Linked DNA regions of Homo sapiens: region 1 is linked to region 2. Evidence: promoter capture Hi-C in 16 types of primary human blood cells and fetal thymus (Javierre and others, 2016). All regions are on one chromosome and are shown on one strand. The core of a region is centred on a gene start or on the middle of the fragment in contact, and the rest is flanking DNA. Distances in the headings are between cores, read along the strand shown. Region 1 holds the start of ACOT6 (acyl-CoA thioesterase 6). Region 2 holds the start of ZNF410 (zinc finger protein 410).

The links. The method cuts DNA at HindIII sites, captures the fragments that hold promoters and counts their contacts. A CHiCAGO score of 5 or more calls a contact.
Region 1: the fragment with the promoter of ACOT6 here is called in contact with the fragment with the promoter of ZNF410 in region 2 in 4 of 17 cell types (M1 macrophages, M0 macrophages, naive CD8 T cells and 1 more); the score reaches 10.2 in M1 macrophages.

Annotation. Positions count from the first base shown.
Region 1 is chr14:73,610,901-73,614,099 of GRCh38, reverse strand. ACOT6 (acyl-CoA thioesterase 6) reads right to left here and starts at 1,583. Exons shown (of 3, transcript NM_001365788.1): 1 at 1,068-1,583. The coding sequence starts at 1,528. It also overlaps a transcript of HEATR4 not described here. RefSeq lists a silencer at 3-247 and enhancers at 1,323-1,372, 906-1,405, 1,423-1,472. The HindIII fragment of the contact is 17,987 bases long and covers 1-3,199 here.
Region 2 is chr14:73,885,258-73,888,430 of GRCh38, reverse strand. It overlaps ZNF410 (zinc finger protein 410), which reads right to left and starts at 1,572. Exons shown (of 12, transcript NM_021188.3): 1 at 1,516-1,572. PTGR2 (prostaglandin reductase 2) reads right to left here. Exons shown (of 10, transcript NM_001146154.2): 10 at 2,705-3,173. RefSeq lists an enhancer at 1,513-1,582 and a silencer at 1,633-1,912. The HindIII fragment of the contact is 2,164 bases long and covers 1-2,161 here.

The DNA.
Region 1 (3,199 bases), core at 334-2,833, 270 kb after region 2:
CCTCCCAAGCAGCTGGGACTACAGGCATGCACCACCATGCCTGCCTAATTTTTTTTTTTTTTTTTTTTTTTTTGTAGAGACAGAGTTTCACCATGTTGCCCAGGCTGGTCTTGAACTCCTGGGCTCAAGTGATCTGCCCACCTCAGCCTCCCAAAGTGCTGGGATTACAGGCCTGAGCCACTGTGCCCGGCTCATCATTTTTATATGGTAGAGGTTTAAGTCAGGAATTTAGTTAGAAGGGATTAATCAGGAGTCTTCTTTCTGGGCTACCTTTACCTAGCAAACATCCTGTGTTTACTTAGACTAGGGTTCCTCAACCTCAGTAGTACAGACATTTTCAGCAAGATAATTCTTTGTTCTGGTGGTTGTCCTGTGCATTGTGGAATGTTTAGCAGCATCTCTGGCCTCTGCCTGCTAGATGCCAATAGCACCTCTCCCTTCAGATATGACAACCACAAATGTCTCCAGATATTGCCAAATTTCCCCCAGGGAGGGCGGCTAATCATTGCAGGTTGAGAACCACGTACAGCATGTTTATGATAGAAGGGAGAGGACTGTCAGGCAGTTTTGTGTGTGTTTTTAAACAATTAAAGGGCATTGCCAATACTGTGGATTTTAGCTTCTTTGGAAGTTTGATGTGAAAGGAGGCAAAAATCCTTCTTGCACATCAGCTTAAGGTTTTGCCCATATCGTATTCAAACAAAACCACATGGCTGGCACATAGTGGCTCTCAATAAATATATAATAAGTTGAATGCACTATTCAGCACATAGCTAAAGTGGTGGTGCCTCCAGGGAGGGACGTGAAACTTAAAAAGGAAAGACTGGAGTAGCTACTCAGGAGGCTGAGGCGAGAGGACTTGAGCCCAGGAGTTCGAGGCTGCAGTGTGAGCTACGATCCAGCCACGGCACTCCAGCCTGGGCAACAGCGGACGCCCAGACTCAGAATCCATGACAGACTCTGGAGCGAAGGAACAAGTTCAGGGATGTTCCACAATCACGCGATTCCCAGGACAGGAAAGGGGCCGGTGGGGGTCGCAGAGCTCGACCAAATTCTGGGCAGACTACTCATCCGGCGGCAGGAAGAGCGCGGCGCGCACCGGGCCCGCGCGCACCGGCTCGCGCCGCACCCCCGGCCGGAGAAAGTCGCGCTTGTTCTGCGCCAGGCACAGCAGCCGCCCGGGCTCGGTGTCGTGGCCGTCCAGCACTTCCAGCTCCACGGCGAAGGGCGTCCGCACGTCGCGCTTCACCAGCCGCACCAAGGCTTTCTCGGGCTCCAACGCCCACAGCAGCCCCATGGGCTGGAGCCCCGCGAAGCTGCCTCCCAGCGCGGGCGCGCGCTCCAGGTCCAGCTCGTCGCGGGCGTCGGCACGGTAGCGCGCGTGGGCCCGGAAGAGCGCGCCCTCTTCGTCGCGCAGGGACGTGCGCAGCGTGACTGGCTGCTCCGGGGCCAGGCCGCGCACTGCGATGCGCAGCGGCTCGTCCCAGCAGCAGCGGCCCGCGGGCTCCAGGATCAGCGTCGCTGCCATCCCAATCTGGGTAGAACAGGGGCGACCCAGCTCCGCGGAGTCAGTGGGCGGGCCTGGCGGCTTTGCCGAGCGCTGGAAAGTAGTCGAGGGCGGAGCCCTTAACACTACTCCCATTGGTTGGACTTGGGGACAGGCTCCAGGCCGCTGCGTGGGGCGCCTAGAATTTGTGCAAATACACCAGTGTCCCAAATGAAAGAGTATCTGCTGAAATAAGAGTTAATGACCAATCCGGCCGGGGGCGGTGGATCACGCCTGTGATCCTAGAACTTTGGGAGGCCGAGGTGGGTGGATCACACCTGAGGTTAGGAGTTCAAGACCAGCCTGACCAACAGAGTGAAACCTCATCTCTACTGAAAATACAAAATAGCCAGGTGTGGTGGCGCATGCCTGTAATCCCGGCTACTTGGGAGGCTGAGGCAGAAGAATTGCTTGAACCCAGGAGGCAGAGGTTGCATTGAGCCAAGATTGCACCATTGTACTCCAGCCTAGGCAACAAGGGCAAAACTCCGTCTAAAAAAAAAAAAAAAGAGTTAATGACTATTCCTGCAATCCAATGTGGTGAGTGTCGAAATAGAGGCACAAAAACCACTGAGAGCTAAAGGATTGAGAGAGATACAGTCCAAGAATCTAGATTTTGAAAAAGCATCCCAGGTGATTGTACTCAGGTGACCCCTTGGAGAAACATGGTCGTAATCCGTCCTTTACCCCTCAGTCCCTTACCAAGCCTTTTTTCCAGGGCTAATGGTACCTGGAGCAAAGCAGATGTTTAGGGAGGCAGACCTAGCCGAGTTCTGGTCTGACCCTGATCCTTAATATTAATACCTGGTGATCTTTAGCAAGAAACATAACCCTCTAAATTCAGTTTTCTTATCTGAAAAGGCTTATTGTGACCATTAAATGGGCTAATGTGTAAAAACACTACACTGACACACCTGTAGGTTAGTACCCAGTGAAAGTTTTGTTTTGTTTCTTACCTCACAAATCTAATCACTGGCAGAGTCCATTTTGGGTTGTATGCATACAGAGTTCTGGCAGTAAGCAAGTGGCACTCTCAGCCTGTGTAATTGAGGAGAGTTTTATAAAGGTACTATCTACAAAGGCATGGGCAAGATTTAAAAACAAAAACAATGAAACAAGATTCGGTGTAGAACCCTGAATCTGAAGGTTCAAGGGAAGGGGGCAGTCTGATAGGAGTTGTACCTTTTTTAGAAGGAACCTATGGTTTGTGGCAGGAAGGAGGAGACTATAAGTCCCTTGACTCTCCTCTTGTTTTTCAGTATCTTGCTAATGCCTCTCTTTGGCCAAACCCAACCACACAGCTCAACCTAGCTGGGAACATAGCAGGGTGGAGAAGGAAGAAGAGCATATAGTGATGCCCAGCTCAGTAAACATGTATAAACTGAACAAAAAGGTATTAGACTCTATGAAGCAAGTTCACTGTATGCTGGTTACCAACTTGTCTGAGTCCAGTGAGAAAACACATTCATATATTTAATACAACAATTTACATGAACTGGATTTATTACTTACAGATAGGCAGCAAAGAATGACAGAAGCCTAAGAATCATTGGAAACCAGTCCCCCAAGGCTCAGGAATGCTGCCTGGGTGATGGAATCTCATGTGTGTGTGCCCCACTTGCACTGCAGCTGCCCTGAGTTTTGTACTCTGGG
Region 2 (3,173 bases), core at 323-2,822:
CAGTAAGCAACTGGTAGGTACTAAATATTTGTATAATGAATGAATGACACTACAAATGATACCTACATTTTTCTCTAGTCATCTCTTCTGAACTCCAAACCTTCATTTCTAACTGCTTGCTAGGTATCTCCACATGTATATCCAACAGCATCTCAAACCTAACAATGTCCAAAATCCAGATTATTATCTTCCTTACCAAACCTGTTCTTCTTGTATTACCTATTTCAATGATCGCCCAATCTTCCTCCCACTCAGCTGCAAATTCTAGGTCTTTAAATCTCTCTCATTCTCCATTTTTAAATAATTCCCGTGATTCTCTGTTCCCAGAATGTTCTCTGTTCCCTACTGTAATGCCCTGTTTAGGTCTCTCAGTAACTTTCTACTATACTATTAAAACAGGCCTCTAACTGGTCACCCCGCGTTTAAAATTCCTCTTTCCAATACATCCTTTATGCAGCCATTCAAGTTATCTTTCCAAAACAAAGAAATGCTTATGTCACTTCTACTCAAAGTTCAGTGCCTCGGAAAAATTGTCATAGCCCTAAAGGTAAACCCCTTCGTTTACAGAAAAACTCCCCAGAGCTAGAGATTCAGCAACTTGCCAAAAATTAGACATCTACTTAGATGCAAAACGTAAAAAACTAGAACTTAAAACTTCTGACTGCTACTTTAGTTGTCTTTTACTCTGCACCACACTAAGAAAAAACCAAGTGCAATTTCTCACTCCCTAACAAAATGCCCGACTTTATTTCCAAATGTTTTTTATTTATTGCAAATATGCTGCGTTGACCTTCGTTCCAACCTAAGTACTAATTCTTAAGTCCCAAGTTAATAATATTTAACTTCCAAATGGTGCCTAAATGCATTTCTGAGCCTCATGATCAAGTGGGATAAACTTTAATAAATTGGATTATCTTGAGAAACTTCAGAAAATAAATTCGACACGAAATGTATGAAGGCCGTAAACAATCCACACACTCCTGCCCCCCGAACTGACAGGCAAAGGAGAAACGGGCGACCCAGCCCAGCCGAGTAGGCAGCTGTCCCTTTTCCAAACCCAGAAAGTAAGTGGTATGAAAGGAGAGGGTAGCTCTGGACTGAAACATTCAGGGCAAGGCCTCCTGGCATCCTCTACCCCACACCACAAAGGCCTCAGAAATAAGGCCCCAAGGTCCGTAGGCAGGCCCCGGCTGCGGGTGCAGTCCAAGAGCCCCCGCCCCGGGGACTCGCTGACTCTGGCTTTCTCAGGACAGTCTGTTCCTATATCCCTACCCCCAAAACCAAGCAAAGGAGCAAGAACATCGCCCCTAAAAACCCGCGAGGGGAAGGGCCAAAGCCGCAGGGCTTCAGACTGGCCGCTCCCGGGCCCGCCAGATCCAGGAGGGATGCCCAAGGAGGGCGGTTTCCTCTCTCGGGGCGAACTCGGCCCCAGGCCCCAAGTAGCCGGTACTGGCCCCCGCCCTCTCGGGTACTACCTAACCGAGGAGGGGTGGCCAGGCCCACCTCGGAGCTCACCTTCCAGTTCCGGGAAGCCGGCCGGCCGTCAGTCGGTCCCGAATTCCGTCCACACACAGCGTCTTCCGGCTCCCGCCGGAAGCAGCTCGAGCGCGGGACAGGAAGTTTGGCTGACCCCCCACGCACACACCCACTCGCTCGCCTCAGTGTCGTGTGGCTGCCGCACTGCTCGGGACCCAGACGTCAAGGGTGCTGGCGGGGCCTCCCCAGGCCCGCGACGCAGGGCTCCGCCCCGGACAGGAGGAGCCGCAGCCGCCCCGCTCCCACTCACTCACTCACTCTCGGCCTTCGGGACTCCTATGTCCGCGAAGCCCGAAAAAACAGGTCAGCTAATTCGTTGACGTCACTGCCACCCCGCAGTAGCGGAGGGAGTAGTTTTTCCCATCAGCGGAGGCGTTGCAATGGAGGCAAACGCGAAAGAAAAGATCACTGCTTAAACATTTATCAAAGGTCTCCATGGAGAGGACCTTCGAAGTTTCACCGCCCGAGAAAGGAACTTGCAGAATCAAGTTTTGCATTATATACGGGACGGGGTATGCAGTGAGTCTGGGTTCCGTGTTGTAATTAGGATGTAAAGAGCTCTTGGATGTCCCGACTGCGGGCTTGAACACTTGACTTCCAAGCTGGATGCCACCTTGTTAAAGCTTTGTGAGTTTGACTGACTTCTTGAAATTACTTATTTTAAAATATTTGCGTGCGGAAGAATGAGAGACTCAACCGTGGGAATTAAAGGAGTTCTCTTTAAAAAGGCATTTTCAAGGTTAAAGATAAGCCTTGATGACAGGTTTGGGTACACAAATTACTAATGGTGATTTAAAATAAAGGAGAAACATTTCAGAGGAAGATAATTCCACTTTAGAAAAGCAGAGTAGGCCGGACTCCGTGGCTCACGCCTTTAATCCCAGCACTTTGGGAGGCTAAGGTGGGCGGATCACGAGGTCAGGAGATCGAGACCATCCTGGGTAACGCCGTGAAAACCCGTCTCTACTAAAAACACAAAAATTAGCCGGGCGTGGTGGCACGCGCCTGTAATCCTAGCTACTCGGGAGGCTGAGGCAGGAGAATCGCTTGAACCCGGGAGGCGGAGGTTGCAGTGAGCCGAGATCGTGCCGCTGCACGCCGGGCGACTGAGCAAGACTCCATCTCAAAAAAGAAAAGAAAAGAAAAAAGCAGAGTATAAGATGCAATCCAGAGTTGAGGATATTTACTTGGAGGTAAAGGTCCAGTGCTCAAGAAAGAGGTCAGAAATACAGATGGAGATTTGGGAGTTAGCAACATACAGAGAAAAGTGAAACCCCCTCAGGCGATGAAATGGTCCAGGAAAAGTAACAAAAAAGGGCCACTCACGAAAACTGGGGAGGCTGATTACCAACACAGTTTGAATCTACTTATTACAAATGTTGCATACAAAAGTATATTGGCAGTGTGTAGACAATCATAAGCCAAAACATTCAGAAACAATAATCTTCAGTTTTACTGTTCTGCGAGGGTTGAGTACAATTAATAAAACAAACTTTTGAGGTACATCAGTAGTTCCTGAACATTCATGTTTACAAACATTTGTTAATTTGCCCAGTCCTGTCATTTTCTGAAACTGTCTTTGTTGTCAATCTGTTTTTGTTTTTTGAGATGGAATTTCACTCTTGTCGCCCAGGCTG